3 separate regions of the Homo sapiens genome follow, and regions 2 and 3 are each linked to region 1. Evidence: promoter capture Hi-C in human tissues and cell types (Jung and others, 2019). All regions are on one chromosome and are shown on one strand. The core of a region is centred on a gene start or on the middle of the fragment in contact, and the rest is flanking DNA. Distances in the headings are between cores, read along the strand shown. Region 1 holds the start of LYZL1 (lysozyme like 1). Region 2 has its middle 46 kb from the start of SVIL-AS1. Region 3 has its middle 87 kb from the start of LYZL1.

Region 1 (2,700 bases), core at 87-2,586:
AATGGATTTTTTTTTATTTCAAACTCTTATTTTCTATTCCTAGTATATAAGATTGTAAATGGCTTTTGTATATTTACGTCATATCTGAAAACTTGCTAAGCAAGCATTTTTGAAAAAGAAAAAGACAATCCGTCTCTATTTTCTCACTGGTAAGATCCCTATTTCAAAGCATTTTGAAAAAGATGTTTGAGGGAAAAACCTATACATTTTCTCATATTATAGACTGTTCACAAGAAGTCCACTAATGGCTTCTAAAGATAAAAAAGACCCTCAAGCAGCTTGAAATAACGAAAGTTGAAATTGAAACTCTGCTGAAAAATTATGTTTCATCTCTAATATTGAGAAATATTGAAACATTTGATAACACAGTGTGCTATCTTCCTGATACAAGCCCATGTGAAAGGCAATTTGGCAAATATCTAGCAAAATTACAAAATTATACCCTTTGATCCAGCAAGATATTCTTGTAAAGTTACAAATGACATATGTACAAAATTACTGGTTGTAATATGTTTACAATAGAAGAATAAAATAAGTGTGCATCAATATGAAATTGGCTAAGTATGCTATGTTGTATCTGTATAATGCAATACTATATGAACTTCAAAATAGATTTCAACAAAACCTTTGCATTATTGGCAGATGGAATTTAAGAAAATATAACGATTAGTTAGGTGCAGCCAACAATAAACTTCTACTTAGATCTACATATTCTAATGAGAATTCATTTCAAATGTGTCACTAAATCTGAACATTGAAATAAATAGACCTTGAAAACAGCCCTTTAGTTATTGATTCACAAAGTGTTAAGCCAAATTTTTCAAAAATAATAAAATCATGTTATTACAAAAATATTTTATTAATAATAATTTGACTATAGCAAATGTGCTGTTAATAAATTTTTAATGTTAATTTCACCTCTATGTCATTAATTTTCAAATTTTAGTTTTATGTATGTTGATAATTTATGTAGCATATTAGTACTGAGGTACAGAAGTATGATTTATAACTCAATGTACATCTAAAGAGGATACATGCTTAACTTTCTTTATTAATGGAATTTGTGATAAAGTTTGCAGACGCCTCAGAGAAGAGCTCTCACTTGGACAGGAGGCCCTGGCCAAGTTGTGTAATGAGGAGGGTTGTTGAGGGGAAAAGACAAAAAACAAGAGGTATTAAGCCCCAGAAGACAGTTATCACCTGCCTCAGAACACAAGCATGCAGGATGATACAGCTTTTAGTGCCAAGAAGTAGAATTCTAGCATCTCTAGGTGGTGAGAAACAAAGGATTAAGAATTTTTCTTTCTCTAACACTCTAAAGAAATGTTCTTGAGCTAGGAAAGGATTACTCGCGCCTCGTTAGAATCAGACATGGCTTCAGGGGATGCAGGACGCTCCCCTGAGCTGCCTGTCACCGACTAAGTGGAGCAGTGTTTCTTCCGCAGACTCAACTGAGAAGTCAGCCTCTGGGGCAGGCACCAGGAATCTGCCTTTTCAGTAAGACCTAAATTACTCTTATGAGAACCAGCAATGGCAGGTTCTTGAAGGATGTAGAACATGATGCTTGGGGTTATCATTGCTGCGGGTTTTCTTTGGACTTGTTTGAGATCAGTAAAATTCTAAGGCAGGGGATGGAAACCAACTCTATTTGTAAGCTCTGTATCTTTTTTTCTTTTTTCTTTTCTTTTTTTTTTTTTTTTTTAGACAGGGTCTCTCACTCTGCTGCCCAGGCTGGAGTGCAGTGTCACAATCATGGCTCACTATGGCCTCAAACTCCCAGCCTCAAGTGATCCTCCCACCTCAGCCTCCCCAGTAGCTGGGACCACAGGCACACACCACCATGCCTGGCTAATTTTTGTATATTTTGTAGAGGCAGGGTCTACCTTTGCTGCCCAGGCTAGTCTCAAACTCCTGGCTTCAAGCAATCTGCTCACCTCAGCCTCCCAAAGTGCTTGGATTACAGGTATCACCCACCATGCCTGGCCTTAGCTCTGCATCTTAAACCTCGTTTGTCTGTCCCTCACAGCTTAACACAGTGCTGTACACAGCGGACTGGCATGCTCTCTCTGAAAAGGGCCAGATAATAATATGTTAGGCTTTGTGGTCTATACGGCCTCAAACACAATTACTGAACTCTGCCACTGTAGTTGGAAATCAGCCACCAATGATATATTACCAAATGGGTGTAGCTATGTTTCAATAAAACTTTACATACAAAAGCGGGCCTGGTTTGCCCACGCTTGCTATTCACGTTTGTAATGTACATGCCCCTCATGCAATGCAGTTCCTTACCTTATTGCTTAGTCACCTTAAAGCCCTGCTTGTTACTTGGTGCGGTGGCCTTGCTGATGACTACTTATCCCTGTTTTGGGCCTAGCCTTTCAATGCAGGAATCCAGCCCCAGGGAGAGAAACTAATGACTGGAGAAGTTTCTAGGCAAGTGCAGAAAATGACACGGGATGAACATATGTAAGAACATCAAGTTCAGGATCCCGAGTAGTTGTCAGAAATTTCACTTCACCCCATCCCAGCAAGGCTGTTGTATTTGGGGAAGACATTATTTCAAGAGGGGAAGAGATTGTGGAAAATCAGTAGGCAGCAGGAGACAGCTCTCTTGATCCTACTCCCATTTCAGATGATTCCGCAGGGGTCTCTTTATTGCCCCTCTGCTCCCCCAGGTGCTTTCCTCCTTTCATGAGG
Region 2 (2,700 bases), core at 113-2,612, 74 kb after region 1:
TGTTAATGGTTTCTCCACAAACATAAAATGAGGTGACTTGCAGAGATTGGGTTACATGTTCGGCTAATTGCAAAAACAAATTTTTAGTTTTTCCTGGAATTTCAGGTACTGGCACATTTAGTTCCTCATAGAAAGTCTGAAATACTTGTTCTGGAGAACGTTTTTGAACGTCTCCTTTTATTAGGATGCTTACACCCTAGGATCTAGTCCCTTTCCATCAATGTCTAATGATACATATTTTTCTTTTATTTTACTTTGGGTCTGAGGGGTTTGTGATGATCAATTCTAAAAGGTTGCAGCTCCCATTCATGCAGGAGGGGCTGACTTTTCCTTTTTGGAGTCAAACAGGATCTTTTTTATTTTCCTTTTAAGTAGTCCAAATGACACAAGACCAGTATTGACACATCTCACATAAATATGATTTTTGACAGATATACTTATTTTTTTATGGTGTACCTTTTTTTTTCTAATCTAGAGAACTGCATCCTCTCCCATGCTGCTTACTATCAGTAGCAGCACAAGCATCAAATTTTAAGGTTACATTTTTGGGGACCCCTCTTTTTTTATGTTCTAGCTATTACCTTACTTGTGTCACCTAGAAAAGGACCACTCCTTAATTTCATTTTAAAAACTGTGATTATGGGATGCTTAAAATGGGTCATAACATGCATCAGGTTGGTTATTTCCTGGGCTACATACCTTGGTAGGATAGCATTATACAAACAAGTTTCTTTTAGAGTCCTGGTACACTTATAATAACCATAAAATAATAGGACTGTAGCAATCTTTTGTCCTACCTCAGTGACTTGATGAATATACTGGAAACAGTTCTCAGTCTGAGGAAGGTCAGTTGAAGTCCTTACTATACAAGTCCAAATTTTAAGGAAAATGAGTCCTGTGATGAGTTTCCTCATGTTTCGGCCGTGTGTGGACCAGTTAGCTTCCAGGTGTGACTGGAGCAGGGCTTGTCGTCTTCTTCAGAGTCACTTTGCAGGGGTTGGCGAAGCTGCTCCTATCCACGTGCAGCTCCCAGTCTACTGATGGTCTCGGTGGTTGGGCCCACTAGAATAAACTGAGTCCAATACTTTTACACAGTTATGTTTAACTGAGCTCTCTGATACCAGGAGTAAGGTGGCGGGGTTAGGGTGTTGCAAACTTTAATGGTTATGCGGGGATTTTCACAGAGCAAGCTTTGGTATCTAGTTAGTCTAGCATTTATTAGCTAATGATGTCCTTTGGTATTTATTAAAATCACCACAGCATGGGGAGACTTTATGTTTAGGTTTTGCCTAAGAGTTAGCTTATTTGCTTCTTGTGCTAACAGGGCCATTGCTGCCAGGGCCCTTGGACATGGGGGCCAGCCTTTGGAAACCCTGTCTAGTTGTTTTGAGAGATAGGCCACTGGCCTTGGCCAGGGCCCTGCAGTCTAGGTTAACTCTAACTGCCATTTGTTTTCTTTCTGACACATAGAGTGTAAAGAGTTTTGTCAGGTCAGGTAGCCTCAGGGCTGGGGCCGACATGAGTTTGTTTTTTTTTTTTAAACTCATGAAAAGCTTGTTGCTGTTGGTTGTAATAGATGTAGTTTATCTAATCTACATTTTTATTGACTGTCATCTACCAAAATATTGACTTAAATCTTCTAACTATTTGATTTTAAGCTTTAAATTGATCTGGTATTCCTTGCGGGGCTTCAATTGCATCTAAATAGATGTGAGAGTTGAAAGACCCATAAGGGGCTTCTCTCGCTTTACTATGTCTTATTATTTTTATTATTTTTTTCCTTCCTCTGATTGATGAAATGCCAGGGTGAAAGGGATAGCCAAATGGACTAAAGCACAAGTGCCACTCTAGTTATTCAGCAGAGTGCCCAGTAAAGGTCCACCACAATACCACCACACATCCACTCGGGGATGAACAAGGGCTGACTGATAAGCTCTTGAAAATTCTTAAGCTCACTGCATCCCTTCAGGTCTCCAAGGAATCTAAGTCTCCTCCCTACCGTGAGAGACACGAAGTGAACTTAGTGTTGGGAGACGGAAGCTGGACGGCCCTCGGGGGCTGACCCGCAGGGTGCCAGACTTCGGGATATAGCAGAGAGAGCTTGGCATGACTTGTTACTCCAGGCTGTAGAATCCTGCAAAAGAGCTACTATGCAGCCCACGCCTGGTGGACTGGAGGACCACCTTAGTGGAAGGGGGACAATAAGGGCCTCTGGCCTGCCATGTGCACAAGCATAACAATTGCTTTTGTTTAATGTGCAGATGGAATATTTGATCCATTTCAACTAGGCATTTGCATCTTGGTATGCTGTCTTAATTGCCAAAGTTTGTTTTAAGTCTTTAACTTTTATGATCCTCTAGTAAAATGAATGTTTTCTTTTGTACCAATTTTTATTAGTTTTTAGACCAAAGAAAGCTAAACACCATTTTATATTTAATAATGTTTCTTGTATGATTTTTATACCAGATAAGCTAAATTTTACCATTATATTAGTGTGTTATTAATATTAAACTTAATTTTAATAAAACCTTGTAGACATATTTATCCAATTTTTTATATTTGACCATAAGGTAAGATTTTATAGACTCTTTTTAACCTTTTATAATTTTTGTTAAAGAGCAGGTTGATGCTTTAAGAAAAAAAACCTGTTGCATTTTTACTTTCATGTCCAGTTCACAGAGAAACTGGATGATACCTTTT
Region 3 (2,790 bases), core at 249-2,748, 86 kb before region 1:
TCTCACTACGTTGCTCAGGCTGGTACTTGAACTCTTGGTTTCAAGTGATCCTCCCGCCTCGGCCTCTCAAAGTGCTGCAACCTGGATACTTGTGTTGTGCAGAGGGAACTAGAAATCAAAAGCAGCCCTGAGAAAGAAGAGCAGTCACAGAAGTACAACGTCCCCTGGAAAGGGAGCCTTGAGAGGGGAGGCCACCACTTCAAACCCACCCAGCTCGCCCGAGCAGCCAAGGAAGAGCAAGCTCTCTCTGCAGGATCTGTGTAGAAAGGTGTTATGGTGTTGGCTTTCTAGCACTAATGGGTTCAGACTGTTTCCTGGGTCTTCCGTCTGATGGTCTCTGAGCTCCCCAATTTATGCACATGCCCTGAAGATGCACTGTGTTGATTTGATGGTGCTGAGCTTTATGAAAGGGGGGAAGGTGAGTGTGGACTGGGGATAGGAGGCAGGACCACATCCTGCTAAACTCTGGGACTACTTAGGGGCCCTTCCAGACAGCCGTCCCTGAATTTCCCCCACTTTTCCCTGTCCAGTGTTTGACACTCTTGCTTTTTCTCCTAACAGCATCTCTCTGCCTCTTCTTTCCCTAGAGTTCTGTAAGCTTTTCCAGGACAATCTTGGGCACGTAAGGCAAATGGAGCTTAGAATTCTGGGCTCTGGTGAGAAGATGCTTTGTTCTGGCATCTGAGAAATGACGTGCAAGTGGGGAGCCACCCTCCACAGAAGGAGCCCTGTGACTCACGTGGAGCTCGGGGGGGCCCTTGAAGGACTTATGGTTTAACAAGGCCCAGGGGTCCATGAAAACCTCTGCAGAGGTCAGCCATCCTGAGCCTCCCCCTTAGCTGTCCCTGTTGTTTCCAGCCTTGTGAACCTATGGTGTCACTTCACTGCCTCTCTGAGCCTTAGTTTCCTCAGCCATCAAATTGTGCTGTTGCTCCCTGTCCCTTTCCTGTACATGCCCAGGAGATGAACATGAGATGTACAGGGAATAAACAGGAAATGCACATGAGATGCATATGAGATCAATGTCTTTGAAAGCGCAAATTACAAACTTATGGCAACAGTAGATGTTAAGATGTTATTAATCCCAGAAAGCTAACAGGCTGGATGCACATCAATGGCCCTGAAGCAGTTTGAGAATGGAGAGAGTCCGGCTCAGCTACCGAGCCTTACTCCATCACGAAGCCCAGAAGGGCAGGTAAACAACCTCCCCTCGAGGGATGCAGAGGGCCCCATGAGCTCGCTATATCCCCTTCCTTTCAGGATTTGGAGGGAAAATGCCTTCATTTTCTGTGTAACCAGCCTGAACTGAAACACATATCACTTTGTGCCAAGTTCTAGGGGCTTGAGTTTCCTTTACTGAGGGCACCACTCCCATGTGTCAGTGGGAACCGGATCAGCGGGAGCTTAGTGGTTTTACTTGAGGGGAACCTACAGGAAATAATTTAAGAAGATAATAAGGGGGATTTTTCCTGTCTAGAAATGAGGCCCATGAGTCTTTGCAAATGACATTACTCTCTGATTCAGAAATAAATGCAGGAAAATGGCCTCAGTTGTTTTGCCAAGTCAGTGCGATTGGCCGTAGACACTCTCAGATTAGTATGGAGCTTCCACGCCTTATACTTTGCCCAGGATCCGAGGCCCTGCACAACGTCCTGCCTGTCCTAATAATTCTCTTTCCCAGCATCCAGTACTCGCACACAGTCAGGATCCCTCCTGAGCCCACGCTTTCCTGTTCTCTCATTCTCCATTGTCTTCTTTGCCCCCATTAGATTTGCACAGTTGTTCAGAATTTCATTATCATCAGAACTAAAGTTATAAGCTAATGCCCACTGAGGTAGAGGGTACTTTGTGAGGTACCCTCCTCCTCGTAAACAATTTTTTTTTTTAAGAAACAGTTTAACTCAAAAGGGCAACTAGTTTTGAAATTCAGCATTCAGCTGTCTGCCCAGGAATTTGTAGGTGGGAAAAGGGATTGTTCGATACCTAGAAAAAAAATAATTAGGCTGAGCACAGTGGCTCACATAATCCCAGCACTTTGGGAGGCTGAGGCAGGGGGATAGCTTGAGGCCAGAAGTTTGAAACCAGCCTAGTCAACATGAGATTCTTTTCTGAAAAAAAAAAAAAAAAAAAATTAGCTGGTGTGATGACACATGCTTCTAATTCCATCAGTTTGGGAGGCTGAGGTGGAAGGATCACTTCAGCCCAAGAATTCAAGGCTGCAGTGAGGTATGATTGTGCCATTGCACTCTGGCCTGGGCAACAAAGCAAGACCCTGTCTCGAAAGAAAGAGAGAGGGAAAAAGAGAATGAGAGAGAAAGAAAGAGAGAAAAGGAGAGAGAAAGAAAGAGAGCGAGGAAGAAAGAGAAAGGGAGAGAGAAAGAGAGAGAGAGAAAGGGAGAGAGAAAGAAAGAAAGGGAGAGAAAAAAAAGAAAGGAAGGAAAAAAGAAGGAAGGGAAAAGGAGGAAAGGAAAGAAAAAAGGAAGGAAGGAAAAGAAGGAAGGAAAGGAGGGAGGAAGGAAAGGAGGGAGGGAGGGAAAAAGGAAGGAAGGAAATAACTAGAATAATGGTGCCTAGGGAAATATCTAATCCAATCTCTTCATTTAATAGGCCTAAGCCCAGTGACTACCGATTAAACAAATAAACTAATGAATGAGTAAATGGACCTGAAGAGTTGGAGTTGTCACTGAGATCACCTAGGGTTCAAGGCCAACACTCTCACTTTCTAGGTGAAGGAGCTGAAGCTTAAGCTACAACCTGCCCAAGTAAAATCACGATCAGTGACAAGGAACA

Evidence for each region. The method cuts DNA at HindIII sites, captures the fragments that hold promoters and counts their contacts. A contact is called where the count stands out against the background at its distance.
Region 2: a contact is called between a fragment that was not itself captured here and the fragment with the promoter of LYZL1 in region 1, in 2 of the 25 tissues and cell types used here (mesenchymal stem cells and thymus).
Region 3: a fragment that was not itself captured here is called in contact with the fragment with the promoter of LYZL1 in region 1 in 4 of the 25 tissues and cell types used here (H1 embryonic stem cells, bladder, mesenchymal stem cells and 1 more).

The regions. Positions count from the first base shown.
Region 1 is chr10:29,287,734-29,290,433 of GRCh38, forward strand. It overlaps LYZL1 (lysozyme like 1), which reads left to right and starts at 1,337. Exons shown (of 5, transcript NM_032517.6): 1 at 1,337-1,497. The HindIII fragment of the contact is 13,518 bases long and covers 1-2,700 here.
Region 2 is chr10:29,362,096-29,364,795 of GRCh38, forward strand. No RefSeq gene overlaps it. Among named protein-coding and RNA genes, the nearest start is that of SVIL-AS1, 46 kb to the right of the region's middle. The HindIII fragment of the contact is 4,134 bases long and covers 1-2,700 here.
Region 3 is chr10:29,201,158-29,203,947 of GRCh38, forward strand. No RefSeq gene overlaps it. Among named protein-coding and RNA genes, the nearest start is that of LYZL1, 87 kb to the right of the region's middle. The HindIII fragment of the contact is 4,604 bases long and covers 1-2,790 here.